Linked DNA regions of Homo sapiens: region 2 is linked to region 1. The links are contacts of gene promoters, found by promoter capture Hi-C in human tissues and cell types (Jung and others, 2019). All regions are on one chromosome and are shown on one strand. Each heading gives the region's core, a stretch centred on a gene start or on the middle of the fragment in contact. The rest is flanking DNA. Distances are from core to core; before and after follow the strand shown.

Region 1 (4,699 bases), core at 1,313-3,812:
TAGCCCTGGTTATTGTGATCAGGCTCTGCAGGGGAGGATCCACTGTCTCCTTCCAGGCCTCAGTTTTGGTTTCTATGCACTCCTTCAAGTTCATAAAAAGGAACAGGACCGACTGTCCCAGGAACACAGGCGGCAAGCTTTGAGGCCACATGGGGTTCGCGTCAGCTGAAACACTGAACCGAACAATAAGATGGTCATCTTTGGAGCTTAGGAATTTGCAGAGGGAGGGCGGCTAAAATCCAAGTCAAATGAGCCAACTTTGGAAGATGATCTTTCTTTCTCCCTGAGATTTTTCTAATATTTCCCTGACCTCACATGATATAGAATTAAGGTTTAAATTTAAGTGCATCAGTGGTTTGGGAGGACATTATATTTCCTTTCTTCTCCCCAAAAGGCTTCTGACATGTTCTGCCTAATCTTCAGATCTCTGGAGAGCATCACTGATGAGAGGAAAAATGGGGGCTCGTTGTGGGTGGCAATATCACCACCTACTGCTGGCTCAGGGAGTTTGAAACCCTGGAATTTAGGTTCGTATGGAAAGCAGAAGAAAATGCCTTTTATCATTTATACTATTTAGAATAACATGTATCAAATCATTCATTTTACTAAGGAGTTGATAGCTCAACTCCACTGTATGTAACAGTTGCTAGATACAGACAATTCCAAACTTGGGTGGTAATCTATAGACTGTTACAAGTATTGCAACTGCTTCCCTAAAGCAACAGAACTCTAAGTGTCTATAATCTGTGAAAACAATCTAATGGTTACACTGCAATTTGCCTAAAGCAATATTTGTTCAGTTGCAATGATGTCACAAACACAAAAAGGCTTGTCAGTTTTCAATTATTTCCTTAGAATTCAGAGCTAGATGGTGGCTGAACTCAGAACTGCTTTCCATAGCTCAAATCAGCTAATACAGAGCTTTTCTAGCAGCCAAGAAAGTTCTAGTAGTACAAAAAAAAAAGTTAATAGCCCTTGAAAAGTCTGATGCATTTCCCCACAACTCTTACCACAGAGTTCTGATCCTGGGATGCTTGATTTTAAGGGCCGTGGGTGGCTTGCCAAATAGGCCTTATCTTGGCTTCCTTTGCTAGGTAGGAATACTGCCTTGATATTACATATTCAAAGCAAAGAACCTCTGACCTAAGGGCTCTCCACTAACAATGACATTCTCTGTAAGTAAACTAGAACCCCATCTCAACTTCTGGTTTGCCCTTGTTCTTTGCTATGTACTAGCCTACTGCACAAACAGGACTGAGGAGGACTCCCTTTACCACCATTATGTTGCAAAAGACTCTGCACTGAGGACCCGATAGGGACCGACTGTGCAAAGCCTGAACTTGGCAGAAGATCCCTGGAGAAGGAGGAGTATGGGGCTCAGAGCTGCTCCCTAAGCTGGGCTGGGGAAGGCTGAAGGCCTCCAGCCTTGCCAGAGGGAGATCCAGGTGTGCTTCAGCGGCAAGGACATGTGTTACCTTAAGCAACTGCAGCGCTAACTTAAGCATGTGCTCCTATGGCTATCGTCAACCTAGAAATCCCTTTCACTTTGGGGCGTCACACCTGTAAGCTCAGAACTATCTGAGATCCGCTGCGAGAGCCTGGATCACGATTCCCAAAAAGAAAAGCCTCCTAGTTTATTCGAGAGTAGGAAGTCATTATTTTCTGTGAAGGAAACTGGAATTGGAGAGGGAGGACCCTGGTACACTTTGGCAGAGAGGCTCCTCTCTCTTATCTAAGTATCTCCTCATCCCTCACTGCCTTTCCACCAGACCTCCAGTCCCCGCGGGCTTCCCTTTCTACCTGCCAATGTGGACTCGAGGTCAAGTGTCCCCTGGGCTAGTCTCCTTACATGGGCAAACGGGCTACGCGGGTGACAAACGCGGCGCAACGCCTCCGACCACAACACGTGTATTTTACAGCGCTGGGCGCGGCACAGGGCTCAGTTTAAGGAGCCTCCATAGAACGAGCGTGGCTCAGGACCAGGTCCCTAATGCTAGGAAATTGACGAGGTCAACAGCAGGGCGAGAAACTCTGAATACATTACACACCCTTCCTTCTTGGGAGTGGCAGTCCCCCGTCGCCACTTCACTCGCAGCCATCTATATGCCAAGGGCTCACACCAGACAAGTGTCTGTGAGCACGCCTCAACTTTAATCCTACCCCGCCGTGTCCACTGGTGCGGCTGCCCCCAGTCGAGGGTTCACCTGGGCGCTCCGCGGTGCCGGGGGCACACAGCCAGGGAGGGCGCTCTTACCAGAGAAGTCGGTGAGCGCTGAGATCTCTTTGGAGCAGACCAGGACAGTGCAGTAGAAGAGGCGCAGGAGCTGCCCCGGCGGCTCTACCTGCCGGCGGAGGCCGGGATGCTGCACGGGCTGGGGCGTCGGCGGTTGGCGTGCGCGTCCCGGCAGAAGCATCGTGCGCTGCGCGGCGGGGCGGAGGCGCAGGCCCGGGACGCGCTGGGGGTCGCAGGGCTAAGGACGGCGTCACATGGCGGGGAGAATCGATGGCCAGCGGCTCCGCGGCCCCCCGCCGCCTCCCTGCCCAGGCTGCCAGAGCCTCCTCCCCTGCGCGGGCCAGCCCAGGCGCCCCAGCAAAGGGGAGGGGGCGGAGAACTGGGGCGGGGCGAGGATCCCCGAAAAGGATCCGCGTAGTTTCCCCGAGAGGAAATCTCCGTTGCCGCCGTGCCGGAGGAAGCGAGGGGGGCCGTAGGGAAAGCGCAGCCTTCGCGCGCCCCGCGGCTGCCCAGGCCGATCCCTGGCGCGCTGCCCACCGCGGAGGGCGCCCCCAGTAGCGCGCCCCGGGCCGCGCACCTTGAGCGCCTTCCACACCCGGGAAACAGCCGGGCACCCGTGGCCCTGCCCGCGCTGGCCGGGTGCCAGCCTCGCCCTGGCGGCAGAAGGAGCGCGGCCGGTGCCCGTGACGCACTTTGGAGCCAGCGCCGCGCGTGCAGCTGGGGCGCCCCCGGGGCGGGGCCGATCGGGGGCCGCAGGAAGGTGGGGTCCTGGAGGCGTGGGATCGCACCGCTGCCATCCCCGCCACCCGCCGCGCGCCACGTGCAGTCACCCGGCACATACAGTTATCGCCATTCCACAGAAGAGGAGACTGAGCCCCGGCGCCGTGCCCAAGCTCTCGCAGCCAGGACGGCGACGAGCTGGAGGTCTCAAAACCGGTCAGATGGCTCCGGAGCCGGGATCTTTAGCTCCAGCTCGGCTTCCTTTGGGTGCTGGTTGTCCGCAGCGCTGGGGGATCTGACACTGCACCGGCGCAAACAGCCGCCGAGCGCTAATAATTGGGCTTTGTTTTAAAGTGGGCCACAGCATCTTTCTGAACCTCTAGACTGTGCGCGGGGTGACCCACGTTCGGACGCCCAGCCAGTGGCCTAGGAGTGGCCTGCGTAGCCCCAACTCAAGGGTATCGAGGACAAGTGCGCGAGGGGCTCCGTGGCTGCTTGCCGGGTGCGGGTACCTGGCGCCCAGCGACCCAAACCCTATGGATCGCGCGGGGCCGGCGGAAGGGAGGAGGGCGGGCGCTAGGCACACAGTGTTCCCGAACCCGGCGGGAGGGCCTGCCAAGTTCGCGGCGGGCGTGACGCGGAAACGTAGATAATGAGGCCCAGGGCGGGGCCGGACGCACTGCCCCGCGGGCTCCAGAGCTGCGAACGCCCCAGAGTGTGCAGGGAGGCCTGCAGAAAGAAAATGCGGCTGAGGGTCCCCGTGGGACCCACTCAGAGGTGGGCCGTAAAGATCCCGGAAGGGTGGATGGCATTAGATACCACCTAGTACTCCAGCAAGGGCTGGGTCACCGAATTGGGATCTCGGCCTCTTCTTCCAGTCTGGGGAAAAGTGTGTTAAATGCTAAACATCAGTGTTTATCGAGTGAGGCCCAGCCTGTCTGGCATAATGATTTTTAAAATCTACATTCAAATATTAAATAAAAACTCAACCTCCCCAATAACATTTGAACATAAATATTAGTGTGCGCTCTCTAGGTTAGGGAAACTGAAGCTGGGAGTGTGGGTAAGGATGCCCAGCACTTAGGAGCCACAGGGTAAGTAATGTTTGTCCAAAACTCGGGTCCCTCCTGTACTTTCCATTCTGTCTGTTCATTCATCCAGTTTAGATATGAATTGGTACCAACGTGTGCCAGGTTCTGCGCTAGTGACTGACAGTGTTGGCACAGGGAGGCAGCCATGCTCCCGAGTCCTGGGAGTGGGCAGCACTGCCCTGTGGGTCTGCACTGGCTTCCAAATGTCTAAGTGGGCACTGTTACTCACTGTGACAGCATCCCCAGGCTTTCTTACCTGGTAAAGCAGAAACTCAAACATACTTACACACCAATATTCATTGCAGCATTATTTATGATGGCCAAAAGATGGAAGCAACTCCAGTGGATGAATGCATACAGTTACTATTACAGCAGGGAAGACAGACATTGGAAAATAATGCCCCGTGAACGGACAGTCACGAAAGACAGGAACCATGGGAGCAGAAGCGAGGAATGAAGGAGCTGAGCCCGAGGGAGGAAGGGAGATATTCAGGAGCATTTTAAGGCAAGATGGATGAGAAAGCTAGAGGATGAATTGGCCAAGCAAAAACTAGCAAAACCCGGGTGTTGCGGGAGGATGAACATTTTAGAAAAAGGGACCAGCATGTTGAAATCCAAAAGGAGCATGGCTGTCTTGAAGGATGGGGAAAAGTCT
Region 2 (4,043 bases), core at 656-3,155, 700 kb before region 1:
AACATCAGTCAAATAATTGCCTACTGTTTCTTGTATATTAAGAGAAGTGAAAAATCATGGTGAAGTCTCTTGAAATGTTTGACCCTGCAGTCTTTTCTCTCTCTAGAAGGAAGAGGCTGATCTTTGGGCTTTCCAAAAGCTGCAGTTCTGGGACCTGGGGGAAAATTGGAGTGCCTGGCTTCCAAACAGGCATAATGGCTCTCTGCAAGACCAAGTATGTACAAACATCCCTTGAGCAGCCCTGCAAGCCTGATGCTTCACCAATGGGCACCCGGGCTTCATAACTGCTGAAAATCATGGTGTTGATTATCAGCACAGTGACGGTGCCAGGTGCTGCGGAATCAGTGAGTTTTCTAATTATTGCTTTATTGCCAAGGGAGAAAGGGGCAGCTTAAACTCAGAAATGTATGTATTAGGTGCCTGTTAAGTACCCACAATGAGCATCTGCTGTTATGGATAAACTGAGGCACAGTGGCATCAATAGAAACAACTCAGGGCATACAGTAGACCAAGGCCATTCATTGTTAGCACTAGGATCCCAAAGCCCAGGTGCCAGTGCCTCCACCTGCCTCCGGTTAAATATATCACACAGTACGTGCAATGAGAAAAACTCTTGCTGGGACCAAATATCCACAGAAAATCGGGGGGATCTGCATATCAATGATAAAGGTGATTTGAATTAGAAATATAGGAGGCTTCAAAAAGGGACAGAGACGTGATGGAGGAGGCCTCCAATCAGGCCCTCAGTTCCTTTGAGAATCCATGAGACTGATACTGTGTGTGGTTGTCATAATATCACCAAGGAACGAAAGCGGGAATTTCATCAATGGAGATTTTAGACATTTTCCTAACCCCAATGTCTGGCATAAGGGTGATTAGATCCCACTCCTCTGTTCAGAAGGCCAGTGCAATTTCTATGGGTATGGTACCAGTTTTGTTTTACTGATTGGAAAGAGAGTTTGATCATACTAGCAGTAATTCATAATGTATGGGCATCTCTTATGCAAATGAGCCCACTCTTTGCCTTAAAAAAAAAAAAAAAGTCCGGAAAGAAATAAAATGCTACATAAATGGGACCGCTTCGTTTCTCTCCTGCTTGTTCTTTCCCTCTTTCTCTCTCTCTCTCTTTTAAAAAGTAAACCGAAGGTAGTTGTATTTAAGCAGCTTTAATGTCCTTTCAGGGCTGCGCACAGGGTTGTGGTCACTCAGGCAGCAGTAACTTTGAAAAAATGACCCGTCTACACCCAAACAATAACAGAATCCCCCTTTTTATGTTGGAAACGCCCACGGCTTTCTGTGCATCTCCAGACTCCCCACGTAGATGCAACTGTTTGACCAGCCTTCTACTGAACAACTTAATTAAGCAAAAGAAAACGTGTCAGTTTCTGCCAACCTCACAAAAACAGAGCTGTGGGGGTAAAAAGGGTCGGCGAATTAACCCACATTCCTGAACGGGTTCACTAAAGCGAGGCCTGGCTTTGCAGCAATGCCAAGGGGAACCGTGCGCTGGGTTGCCATTCAGATTTATCAAGACATATTGTTCTGTAGATCATACTGAACACAATTAAAGCTGCAGTACCTCGGGGGGCTACAGCTCGGGTGTGAGCTTAGCTTAACTTAAAAAAAAAAAATCTTGTCACGACACGGTGCCTACCATTGACATTCTGCACAGTTACAAAGACAAAACAGTTCTATCCGACCATATGAAAACAGCAAGTTGTTTTTAGTTTTTTCCCCTCTTTAGTGTCCCTGCCCTCCCTCTTCCCCCGTTTTCCCTCTCCATGAAAGCACATGCAATATGCAAAGCAACTGTATACTCTGCATGCAATTTGTACTAGCCAGACCCAACCCGAATTTAATCCTTTTTTTTTTTCTTTTTGTCCTGAGGGCGGGGAAGTGTCCCAGCCTAAATCCTTCTCTGGAAGCTGGGAAAGCAGAGGCCCCAGGAATCCTGTTTCCTAGCCAATTAAATTTAGTTTTCTTTTTTTCTTTTTTTTCAGGCTTGGATTTTGATTTTGCTTCCTTTATGTGAAGCCAGGAGAGAGCTTAGCGCCCAGTACTCCGTGCCCCACCCCCACCACATCGCAGCCTCCCACAGTCACCAGGAAAAGTGGGGGCTTTCAGCGGCAGCCAGAAGGAATTCAGAAACATCACATTTCATTTCGGGAAGAATTGGATCAGCACCAGTTTGGTGTTGAGGCCATGAGATTGTGGCATTTTTATCCCAAATTTATCCTCCCTTGGTCTCTCTCAGTGTGTGTGTCTGTAGGAAGTCATCGTGTAGCATTATGCTATGAAGAAAGCATCCCACACTTATTCAATTGCATCGTCCCACATTCTGGATCGGGAGACACAGACTCAAGTCAACCTGCAGCTGCCTAATTTTGCAGGGAAGCAGCCATCCTGATGTTTGCAGGTTGGAGGCCTCCAAGTGACACACATCAGGAAGAAATGGGCTCTCCAATCCCAGATGAGCTGAAACACAAACGTTTTCTGAGGGAACAGTCAGGAGTCCTATCTTTCTGAGCCCTTTTCGATGCAAGCAACCATTGATGAAGAAGCATTTATGCTTGATACCTATGGCAGGTGTTCTTCGGTGTGGAGATGTTGTCAATGAAAGATTCAAAAGTGGTTCAATTATCAGAAGACCCTATTTGTTTGCTTTTGCCCAGCTTTTGTTTGCTCTGTCACTCAGGGAGAATATAAACAACTTTGGCGAGGTAAGATGGAAAAACAGCCGGTACGGAAATGTTCGATGGACAAATGAGAGGACTTGGCAGAAGTTTGGCTTAGAAGATGAATGATAGAGCCCCGGACAGAATGCAATAGTGGCAATAGGCATGCATTCTTTGCAGATGTGCACCGAAGGCTACAGGCTACTGTGTCTTTTTCTTCTGGCTTCTCTCTTGAGCTTCTGACACTGCACAGAAAGTGGGTCGGTCCTCTGACAGGCTTGAAAAATGCAAAAGTTTACCACCAACTGGTGGGAATACATGCAACACATGCATAAAACAGAGCATCAGTGGTGAAATGCAGCCTGCAGTTTCTCTCCGACAGTTATCCAGATAGTTCATCTCAAAATAATGATTTTGCCATAAACATACAGATATTGCAGGCAAAAGCCATCACAATTCAAAAGCCGTAACAAGAATGGCTTATTCTTTTAAGGGTTCCTTGTTAACTACAGAAAATGATCCACATGTCCCATTGAGGTGCTCTAAGATCTGGGACTGGCTTCTACGTTTATCTTTTTTGCCGAACAATTCAGGCTCCAGAGGGGATTTTTCTTTTTGGTCTGAAGGGTGAAGCTTGTCTGGTCGGCAGCTTTTGCAAACTACAGCCGCTCAGTTGAGCTCATTCCTCTGAGGTCTCTGTGCTGCCCCAAAATGGCTCTTCTGGGCCTGATGGAAAACCTGAGCCAAGCGCTTTAAGTAGACACAATGCCCCAGAGAGACATCCGATCCTCAGGCGGGTGCACCAGCCACCTGGGCCCCTTACTCTGCCTGTGGTCCCACTCCTGGCCTTTGCTCTGGGATTCCTGCTCTCTGGGATGCCTGGACTTGTCTCCCTCTGTCCCCGGGATAGGAAGCGTCGTCTTTGCCGAGGGCCCAGGGCTGCTCTTTGTGTTTTCAGGGGTTCGAGTCTCCTCTCTACTGCTTCCCTGTAGTATGATCTTAGGCAAATTATTTAACCCCCCGTACCTCAGTTTACCCACCTGTAAAAATGGGCTAATAGTATCCAACCTCAGGGAGCTGTTGGGAGGCTTAAGTGGGTTAATTTATGCAAAGGACTTAGAACCCTGCCTGGTGCATAGTAACAATTATTATCTCCCCTGTTAGTCTTTAAACTCCTTCAAGCCTCCAGCATTGCTTTATTTATTGCAGCAAAAGTTCCAGGGGTAAATAATCCCCAGACTGTCTCCCCTCTGTTGGGCACGGCAGAGGGCAGGTGTAGACTTGGCTTGCAAACCTTCCTTCTATTGATGTGGGCTCAATACCCTTGGCTTTCCAACCAAGTCAGAGTGCCAGTCCCTGGAAAGATTT

Evidence for each region. The method cuts DNA at HindIII sites, captures the fragments that hold promoters and counts their contacts. A contact is called where the count stands out against the background at its distance.
Region 2: a contact is called between a fragment that was not itself captured here and the fragment with the promoter of EVA1C in region 1, in 1 of the 25 tissues and cell types used here (lymphoblastoid cells).

The regions. Positions count from the first base shown.
Region 1 is chr21:32,410,569-32,415,267 of GRCh38, reverse strand. It overlaps EVA1C (eva-1 homolog C), which reads right to left and starts at 2,562. Exons shown (of 8, transcript NM_058187.5): 1 at 2,255-2,562. The coding sequence starts at 2,414. The HindIII fragment of the contact is 9,144 bases long and covers 1-4,699 here.
Region 2 is chr21:33,110,687-33,114,729 of GRCh38, reverse strand. It overlaps LOC101928107 (a long non-coding RNA gene), which reads left to right. Exons shown (of 3, transcript NR_109961.1): 2 at 107-344; 3 at 2,001-3,026. Among named protein-coding and RNA genes, the nearest start is that of OLIG1, 43 kb to the right of the region's middle. The HindIII fragment of the contact is 4,232 bases long and covers 1-4,021 here.